Linked DNA regions of Homo sapiens: region 2 is linked to region 1. The links are contacts of gene promoters, found by promoter capture Hi-C in human tissues and cell types (Jung and others, 2019). All regions are on one chromosome and are shown on one strand. The core of a region is centred on a gene start or on the middle of the fragment in contact, and the rest is flanking DNA. Distances in the headings are between cores, read along the strand shown. Region 1 holds the start of PAPLN (papilin, proteoglycan like sulfated glycoprotein). Region 2 overlaps PSEN1 (presenilin 1).

What was found. Contacts are between HindIII fragments. The study calls those that stand out against the background at their distance.
Region 2: a fragment that was not itself captured here is called in contact with the fragment with the promoter of PAPLN in region 1 in 1 of the 25 tissues and cell types used here (mesenchymal stem cells).

What each region holds. Positions count from the first base shown.
Region 1 is chr14:73,234,520-73,239,529 of GRCh38, forward strand. PAPLN (papilin, proteoglycan like sulfated glycoprotein) reads left to right here and starts at 2,987. Exons shown (of 27, transcript NM_001365906.3): 1 at 2,987-3,073. RefSeq lists enhancers at 1,260-1,832, 1,833-2,404, 2,978-3,548 and a silencer at 1,622-1,916. The HindIII fragment of the contact is 14,518 bases long and covers 1-5,010 here.
Region 2 is chr14:73,190,718-73,195,386 of GRCh38, forward strand. It overlaps PSEN1 (presenilin 1), which reads left to right. Exons shown (of 12, transcript NM_000021.4): 7 at 1,927-2,147. Among named protein-coding and RNA genes, the nearest start is that of PAPLN, 44 kb to the right of the region's middle. The HindIII fragment of the contact is 3,125 bases long and covers 313-3,437 here.

The DNA of each region.
Region 1 (5,010 bases), core at 1,737-4,236:
TTTGGCACCAGGGACCAGTTTTATGGAAGAGAATTTTTTCAGGTCTGGGAGCGGGGTGGGATGGTTTCGGGAAGAAACTGTTCCAGTCTAAAGCCTGATCCTGTTCAGATCATCAGGCATCAGAGTCTCCTAAGGAATGCACACCCTAGGTCCCTTGCATGAGTAGTTCACAACAGGGTTCATGCTCCCGTGGGAATCTAATGCTGCCACTGACCTGACAGGTGGCGGGGCTCAGGCAGTAATGCTTGCTCACCTCCTGCTGTGTGCCCGTTCCTAACAGGCCATGGACAGGTACCGGTCCGTGGCCTGGGGATTGAGGACCCCTATCTTGGACTGCAGGCAACTGCCACCATACCTGGCTAATTAAAAAAAAAATTGTAGAGATGGAGGGTCTCACTGTGTTGCCCTGGCTAGTTTTGAACTCCTAGACTTAAGCAATCCTCCCTCCTCAGCCTCTCAAAGTATTGGGACTCCAGGCATGAGCCACTGCGCCCAGATCAGAACTAACTTTTATTCTGCATCTAGTAGGAATTTTATGGAAACCAGTTACTTCCCTACTCTACCACCTGCTGTATGAGTCTCAAGTGAGCAAGTTGTGGCTTAAGGAGGTGACCCGACCTGCCCAAGTACACACACAGTGAGAAGCAGAGCAGCCTTCCAGTCCAGGTCTGCCTCCGCCCCAGGCTACCCCAAACCCCCAATGCGAGGGCGTCTCAGGTGCAGACACTGAGTGGCATAGAGCCAGCACAGAGGGGACTTGACAATAGGAAGGAAGGTCTTACACTTTTTCCTGGAATCTTCTTTCTAAACCACCCTATTTTAATGCATCAGTTCTGTTCACATCTCTGTGAGGTAAGCAGAGGAGAAATGAGGCTTAAAGAGAATATTCCTGCCCAAGCCAGTAATTGCTAGGGCCTGGCTGGTGGGTCTAAGACAGTCCCTTACCACTGAGTGTGGGTTCTGCCTCCCAACCTCAGAGTCCTCTTTGCAGCTGGCGTGAGGCATAAGAAATCACAGCCCTGGGTGTCTGAGAAGAAAGGATCATAGGAAAAGCAGGGACACAGCAGGAAAGTGAGCTCCTTGGGCCTCAGCTTCCCCCACCCTGCAGCGGGAGAAGCATTTTCCTCCCACTTAACAGAGGACCTTTGACCAAGCTCAGAAAAGTCCCAGCTGGTGGGGGCAGGGAGTGGGGCTTGTTGAATGGAAGAAGCGCTTTTCCTCTTTAGAGAGGCTGCATGATTCCACTCCCCTTTCTCTGCCAAGCTTTATCTTTGCTTAAGAATTCACACAACTCCCCAGGGGCCCCGCTACAGCTGCTGCTCCTCCTGTCTTCATTGATAGGTAAGAAATGCACCTGATTTAAACTGATTTAAACTGGCCATGTTCTAATAAGCATTTTGTCCAAACAGGCAGCTGCTGGAGCCAGGGGGCTGAAGTGGGGCTGAGCTTCCCGCTGGTGACTTCTCTTTGCCCAAATGAGGCCAAGGGAGAAGTGGCAGGGCCAGCAAGGGGCTAAAGGCAGAACAGCGTGGGGGAAGGGGACCAGCCTTTGCCACCACCCCACCCCCAACCTCTCCCCAACTTCTTCCCCCCAACCTCCCTCGTGTCCAGGACCAGTTTCTAAAGATGAGTGAATTCCAGTTTCAAAAAAAGAATGGTAGGCAAAGAGTGTCTTGGTTGTGAAAAAGGACAACCAGGAAAACAAATGAAGTTGATCACATGCGTTGAGCCCCTGCCTTGATGCTAATTAGTGCCCTGGCACAGGTGGTGGGGCTGCATTGCAGGCCCTGCCCCCCGGGACTCACAGCTGAGCAAATCACAGCAACAGGGACAGAAACCGAGGGAGCAGGACATGCACCCCATCGGCCTGGGGTGGTGTGGAGACGGCTTCAAAAGCAGGTGACATGCTGGGCACGGTGGCACTTTGGCAGGCCACGGTGGGAAGATTGCTTGAGCTCAGGAGTTCGAGACCAGGTTGGGCGAGACCTTGTTTCTATTTAAAAAAAGAAGAAGAAGGCTGGGCGCAGTGGCTCACGTCTGTAATCCCAGCACTTTGGGAGTCCGAGGTGGGTGGATCACCTGAAGTCAGGAGTTGGAGACCAGTCTGGCCAACAAGGTGAAAACCTGTCTCTACTAAAAATACAAAAATTAGCCAGGCATCATACAGACGCCTGTAATCCCAGCTACTAGGGAGGCTGAGGCTGGAGAATCGCTTGAACCCAGGAGGCGGAGGTTGCAGTGAGCCAAGATCTAGCCATTGCTCTCTACCCTGGGCAACAAGAGTGAAACTCCGTCTAAAAAAAAAAAAAAGAAAAGGAGGGAGGAAAGTAGAAAGAAAGAAAAGAAAGAGGAAGAAAGGGAGGGAGGAAAGTAGAAAGAAAGAAAAGAGGAAGGGAGGGAGGGAAAGAAAGAAGAAAGTGAGGGAGGAAAGTAGAAAGAAAGAAAAGAGGAAGGGAGGGAGGGAAAGAAAGAAGAAAGGAAGGAAAGTGACATTTGACCAAGGTTTTGAGGGCTGACTACGGGTTTGAGAGGTAGAGGGGATTGGGAGAGCGCATTCTGAGTGAGAAAACGTGCTGGGAGATGGGTAACAGCAGCGTGTGCGGAGAAACTCAGTTGCGGCTGAAGAATAGGATCCAGGGGTGGAGAAGGTGGTGGCTGGACACAGGTGTGTTGTGTGTAGGATAGGCATGAAGAGGAGCGGATAGGGCAAAGCTAGAAGGCTTGGGCAAGGGGAAATGGGATTGGAGAGGTGACTGGCGCTGACCCAAGAGAGGACAGACGGGGTGACCAGAGTGGAGGATGAGCCAAGCCTTGGCACAGACCCAAGCGGGTGGAGGCCCCGGGCAACACCGGTCACCACGAGGGCCTCTACGAAGGGCTCTGTCCTCCCACGGGGATTGGAGGTGGGTAAGTGAGACAGGGCGGGGTGGAGGGTGAGGCCAGGCAGCGGCGGAGAGAGAAAGTCCCACCCCTGCGGGCGTTCCTTGCGGCCCGGCCGACCTCGCGGGCTTGGGCCTGGGCGGGCACCGACGGAGCGGCCCTGGCTGCAGCCTCCCGGCGCCAGCGAAGACAGGTAGGGAGGCGGAGGGACTGGAAGCCCCCGGGCGCCCAGCGGCGGGGACCCCGCACCCCGGGGCTTCTGCAGGAATTTGCTCGCCTGGCTCACGGCGACGGGGGTGTCGGAGAAAGTGGGGGCCGCAGAGAAGACCCCGCCCCGGCTCGCTCTCCGGAGGTGGGCGCAGGGTCATCGCTCGGCACCGCGCGCCCCCCGGCCTGGAGGAAAGGAAATGCAGAGAGCCGGGGAGCTGGTGCGGGACGGCCCCGGCGCGCACCCTCCGCCCGCTCGGACCTTCCCTTCAGGCGAATGCCGCTCCCGGCGCGTGGTACAAGCGAGGCCCTGGAGACCGTGCGCCCCTCCCGGGAGGTGCCACTGGGCCGCGGGCCTGGAGCGTCCGGGAGCCCCAGCGGCTGCCGGCACCTGCGCGGCCACCCCGGGCCTCCCGTGGGAACCGCGCCTCTCCGCCTCGGGGGTGCGCGGCGCGTTCCTGGGGTGGGGACGCGGGGTGCCTGGTCAGGGCTGGACCGATGCAGAGGGGGGCCGTGGGCGGGGGCCACGGGGACGGGCGTCTGCGGACTGCGGCGGTCCCGGAGTCGGCTGGGGACCCTGTAGGGGGAGGCTTGGTCGGCGGCCACCCGCCTTCCCGCCCTCTGGCGCCTAGGGTCGCCGCCTTCGGCCCTAGCTCAAGGCAGACGCGTTCCCCGGGAACAACACGTTGAGGGCGCCCACCCTGCGTGCCCGGGGCCACCCGGTCCCTGCCCTCGGGCGGCAGGAGAGGTCGAGCTTCCACGGCCCTCGGAGTAGCCCCGTGACCAGACCCGGACTGGCCTTGGAGTTGAAGGGGTTGTTTGCCACCAAATGAACCGAAAAAACTGAACTTTTCAGACTTCGGAATGGCAGATATGGGCTTGGAGTTCAGTGAAATTGCAGCGGAGGCGGTGGTGTTCTGAGTAATTACAAGTAAAATTCTTCTTTCACCCGTCTTTTCCTCAGCCTCGCCCGCCCTAGCAGGCCTAGCCTGGCCCTAGCAGGGGGCTCCTGCTCTGGGAGCTGCCCCCAGCAGAGCAGAGGCAGGGCTCTGGCAGCAACCCCCTTCCCTCACCCTCCAACCCCAGGAATCTCGAACTTGACCACGAAAATAATGACTCAATGACTCACTGTGCCAAATTAACGAGTGTGTACATTGTTCAGTATGCCAGGTTACATTTCTGCTGAGCTTGGCTTCTGTATGCTGTCTTTTATCCTTGTAAGCAGAAGTCATTTTATATCTTTAAAAAATTAGAACATTGGTAGAATTACAGATTTTAAAGTTCAAACCTGCACGCTAGTACTTGTTTAATGTTTTGTACTGAAGGGCGCACATTGTTTATGTCATTCTGCGATACAGCGACATGTATGTACACATACACACTGCACAGCGTGTATACCGACTGGACACCTGCACCAAATAGTACACACCAGACTGCACATGGACCCGCCCCGCACACTGCACATGCACTTTGCATGCATGCACACATCAAACCACAGACACTCCACACACACTGCACTGCACACTGCCCTGAGCACACTACACTGTACTGCACACTGCACTGCACTTTCAGGGCTCACACGCTGCACCACGCACACTGCACGGCGCACACTGCACTGCATACACACGTTGGTTATGGAGGCTGCTTATGGAGCTTCCCTGTGCAGAGAAATGCTGGCTTGGGTTTTAAATGGGCTACAATTAACACTTTTAGAGCATTTGGGTTTTCAAAGTGTCTTCAGAGACTTGATTTTTTTAAAGCCTATATTAGGAGTTTTTAAACATCTGATGTAATAGCTTTTTTAAAAGGAATCTTGCTGAATTAAAAGTGAGTCTAATTACTCGGATTCTGAACTTGTTTTTCAACCACATAGAAGTATTTTTAATTGCTCTCTCTTTTTTTCCCCTCTGGAACTCTGAAACA
Region 2 (4,669 bases), core at 625-3,124, 45 kb before region 1:
TCAAGAAAAAGTAGTGCTTTCCTCTAAAGAGGGGAACCATGGGGCACAGTGGGGAGAAAACCTACTTTTCACAGTATCTGTTGTGAATTTTATATCTTATTCATGTGTTACCTGGCCAAAGATTAATAAATAGATTGTTTTTGTTTTTGTTTTTTAGTTTGAGGATACTGGAAATGCTTAATATAAATATCTACATCGTCCAGAAATTTCAATGTTTACTCTATTTTGGAATTTCAAAGTGGGAGAGGAATCATCTTTTTGGATGGTACCTGAAACTGAAAGTTTATGCCTAAAGGCGTGCTTGCTTTCTCCTCAGTTACCTCAGGCATCTTCTACAGTTGCAATCTCTTTGTTGTTAGATGGTGGATTTTGCCTCCCCAGAATTAAAATAGCATTTTCTTCATTATAAAAATACTTAACATTCATTGTTTTTTTAAAAAAGACATTATATAAGATTATAAAGAAGAAAAATGACCAGATTCCCACCACCTAAAGATAAGTCCTGTCATCCTTTCAGGAATTAATATATCAATTTCTCATCTACTCTTCTCTCACACTACTTTGCATAAATGGGATCATAAATGGGATCCTATATTTTTTCAAGCAACAGTGTGTTATGCCTATACTCCATGTTTATATGTGTGTATTAAAAAATGTATTTGTATATATGTGTATGTATAAGTGTGTGTGTGTGTATGATGATTCTTCTCCCGCTTTGAAGGTGAAAGAAAGCACACCTTTATTTAAGCATAAACTTTGGGTTTCAGATACTGTCTGGAAAAATGATTTATCTCCCACTTTGAAATTCCAAAATACGTACATATATTTTTTTTTTCTTTTCTTTTTTAGTTTTAGGGTCTTGCTGTGTTGCCCAGGCTGGAGTGCAGTAGTGTGATCATAGCTCACACAGCCTCTAACTCCCAGGCTCAAGCTATCTTCCTGCCCCAGCCTCCTGAGTAGCTGGGACTGCAGGCATGTGCCATCAACTTTAGCTAATTTTAAAATTTTTTTGTAGTGATAGAGTCTCACTGTGTTGCCCAGGCTCGTCTGGAATTCCTGGCCTCAAGTGATCCTCTCACCTCAGCCTCCCAAATTGCTGGGATTAGAGTGTGAGCCACTGTGCCTAGCCTGCATATATCTATTTTTAATGACTGCTAAATCTCATTGTATGAAAATTTATGTCCTAGCTATAAAATTTGTTAGCACATGTTTAATTTTTTCTAATTTCAGATGTTTTAAACTAATATTTCCCAAAGTATAGTATGGCATTTTAGGTATGATATGATCTTTTTTCCTCTTCGTACTCATTTTTATAGTTATGGCCTGTGCAACTGGTTTCCCATTTATATGAATGATACAGAGCTTCCTATTAAGAAAAAGTTCAGCTTGGGAAAAAAAAAGTGAATTGTTCAACTTGAGGGAAAAAAGTGAATTAATTGGCCAGGCACCGTGGCTCATGCTTGTAATCCCAGCACTTTGGGAGGCTGAGACGGGTGGATTGCTTGAACCCAGGAGTTTTAGACCAACCTGGGCAACATGTTGAAACCCTATCTGTACAAAAAAAATTAGAAAAATTAGCTGGGCATAGTGGCACACACCTGTTGTCCCAGCTACTTAGGAGGCTGAGCTGGGAAGACCACCTGATCTCCGGAGGTAAAGACTGCAGTGAGCCGTGATTGCACCACTTTACTCCAGCCTGGGCAACAAAATGAGACCCTGGCTCAAAAACAAAAACAAAAACAAAAAAAGAGTAAATTAATTTAAAGGGAAGTATTAAATAAATAATAGCACAGTTGATATAGGTTATGGTAAAATTATAAAGGTGGGATATTAATATCTAATGTTTGGGAGCCATCACATTATTCTAAATAATGTTTTGGTGAAAATTATTGTACATCTTTTAAAATCTGTGTAATTTTTTTTCAGGGAAGTGTTTAAAACCTATAACGTTGCTGTGGACTACATTACTGTTGCACTCCTGATCTGGAATTTTGGTGTGGTGGGAATGATTTCCATTCACTGGAAAGGTCCACTTCGACTCCAGCAGGCATATCTCATTATGATTAGTGCCCTCATGGCCCTGGTGTTTATCAAGTACCTCCCTGAATGGACTGCGTGGCTCATCTTGGCTGTGATTTCAGTATATGGTAAAACCCAAGACTGATAATTTGTTTGTCACAGGAATGCCCCACTGGAGTGTTTTCTTTCCTCATCTCTTTATCTTGATTTAGAGAAAATGGTAACGTGTACATCCCATAACTCTTCAGTAAATCATTAATTAGCTATAGTAACTTTTTCATTTGAAGATTTCGGCTGGGCATGGTAGCTCATGCCTGTAATCTTAGCACTTTGGGAGGCTGAGGCGGGCAGATCACCTAAGCCCAGAGTTCAAGACCAGCCTGGGCAACATGGCAAAACCTCGTATCTACAGAAAATACAAAAATTAGCCGGGCATGGTGGTGCACACCTGTAGTTCCAGCTACTTAGGAGGCTGAGGTGGGAGGATCGATTGAGCCCAGGAGGTCAAGGCTGCAGTGAGCCATGATTGCATCACTGTATTCCAGCCTGGGTGATAGAACAAGACCTTGTCTCAAAAAAAATTTGGTTTTTCAAGCTTTTTGAGGTTTTGACAAGCTGGCCAATATGGTGAAACCCCGTCTCTACTAAAAATACAAAAATTAGCTGGGTGTGGTGGCGTACCCTTGTATTCCCAGCTACTTGAGAGGCTGAGGCAGGAGAATTATTTGAACCCAGGAAGTGAAGTGGAGGTTGCAGTGAGCCGAGATGGTGCCACTGCACTCTAGCCTGGGTGACAGAGCGAGACTCTGTCTCAAAAAAAAAAAAAAAGCAAAAAAAAAAAAGCACAAGCAGAGTGGTAGACACACAAAATGCTCAATTCATTTTTTAAACGATTTTTTTCCTTTATATCTTACTGCAGAAGCTTTTTTCTTTTTTTTGAGACAAAGTCTTGCTGTGTCACCCAGGCTGGGGTGCAGTGGCACAGTCATAGCTCACTGCAACCTTGAACTCCCTGGCTCATGCGATCCTCCCACTTCAGCCTCTCAAGTAGCTAGAACTACAGGTGTGCACCACCATGCCTGACTAACTTGTTTATTTTTTGTAGAGAGAACGTCTTGCTATATTGCCTAGGCTGGTCTTGAACTCTTGGGCTCAAGCAATCCTCCTACCTTGGCCTCTCAAGGTATTGGGATTATAGGTGTGAGCCACTGCATCTGGCCTCAATTCACTTTTAAAATCAAAATTAGGTTACCTACTTTTTATAAGGTAATGTATAGAATTATTCTTTTAAAAATAAAACCGATTTGGACAGTGTGAGATTCACATTCTGTAACCACCAGTGTGACATGGGTCCTGAACAGTTAGAACATACTCCAGCCATTAACCCAGGCAGCTTTCAGGTACGTACTCTGTGGCTGTTGCCTTGTATGAAAGCCAAAAAGAGATCCATTTTCAGAGATTAATATGTGACCCCTTCTATATTATAAGGCCATGGCCATACTCTTTTTTTTTTCTTTTTGTTTTTTTCTTCCAAAGACAGGATCTCTCTCTGTCATCCACGCTAGAGTACAGTGGCATGAACGTGGCTTACTGCAGCCTCAAACCCTTGTCCTGGGCTCAAACAATCCTCCCACCTCAGCCTTCAAAGTAGATAGAACTACAGGCATGCACTACCATGCCTAATTTTTTAAAAAAAAATTTTTTTTCAGAGATGAGATCTCACTGTGTTTCCCAGGCTTGTCCGGAACTCCTGGCCTCAAGCGATCCTCCCACCTTGGCCTGCCAAAGTGTTGGGATTACAGGCATGAGCCACCATGCCTGGCCATACACTTTTTTTTTTTTTTTTTTTCAAGACGGAGTCTGGCTCTGTCGCCCAGACTGGAGTGCAGTGGCGTGATCTTGGCTCACTGCAAGCTTCGCCTCCCAGGTTCATGCCGTTCTCCTGCCTCAGCCTCCCAAGTAGCTGGGACTACAGGCATCTGCCACCACGCCCGGCTATTTTTTTGTATTTGTAGTAGAGACGGGGTTTCACCATGTTAGCCAGGATGATCTCGATCTCCTGACCTCATGATTCACCTGCCTCGGCCTCCCAAAGTGTTGGGATTACAGGCATGAGCCACCGTGCCCGGCCTGGCCATACACTTTTGTCATTATTTACATACTTACTAAAATGTTTGGTGGCCTGTAATAGGAAACATCATCCTCATTTGATTGACGAAGAAGTCTGTGGAAATAGGATTGAACTGGTTCTGTTCTTGTATTTGAGTAATCAGTTGTGGAACTATAGAAGTCATATACTCTCTCTGACTTTCATAATTACCTTATGTTGTATAGTACTTGATGGTTTGCAAAGTAACCATCTATTCTTGCTTAGCTGTGAGTAAGAATGCCAGGTCTGGAGACAGAATGTCTGGGTTCAAATTCTACTCATCACTTTTTATTTTTATTTTTTTTGAGATAGAGTCTCGCTTTGTTGCCCAGGCTGGAGTGCAGTGGCGTGATCTCAGCTCACTACAACCTCTCCCTCCCGGGATCAAGCGATTCTCCTGCCTCAGCCTTCCGAGTAGCTGGGACTACAAGTGCGCACCACCACGCCCAGCTAATTTTTGTATTTTTAGTAGAGACGAGGTTTTGCCATGTTGGCCAGGCT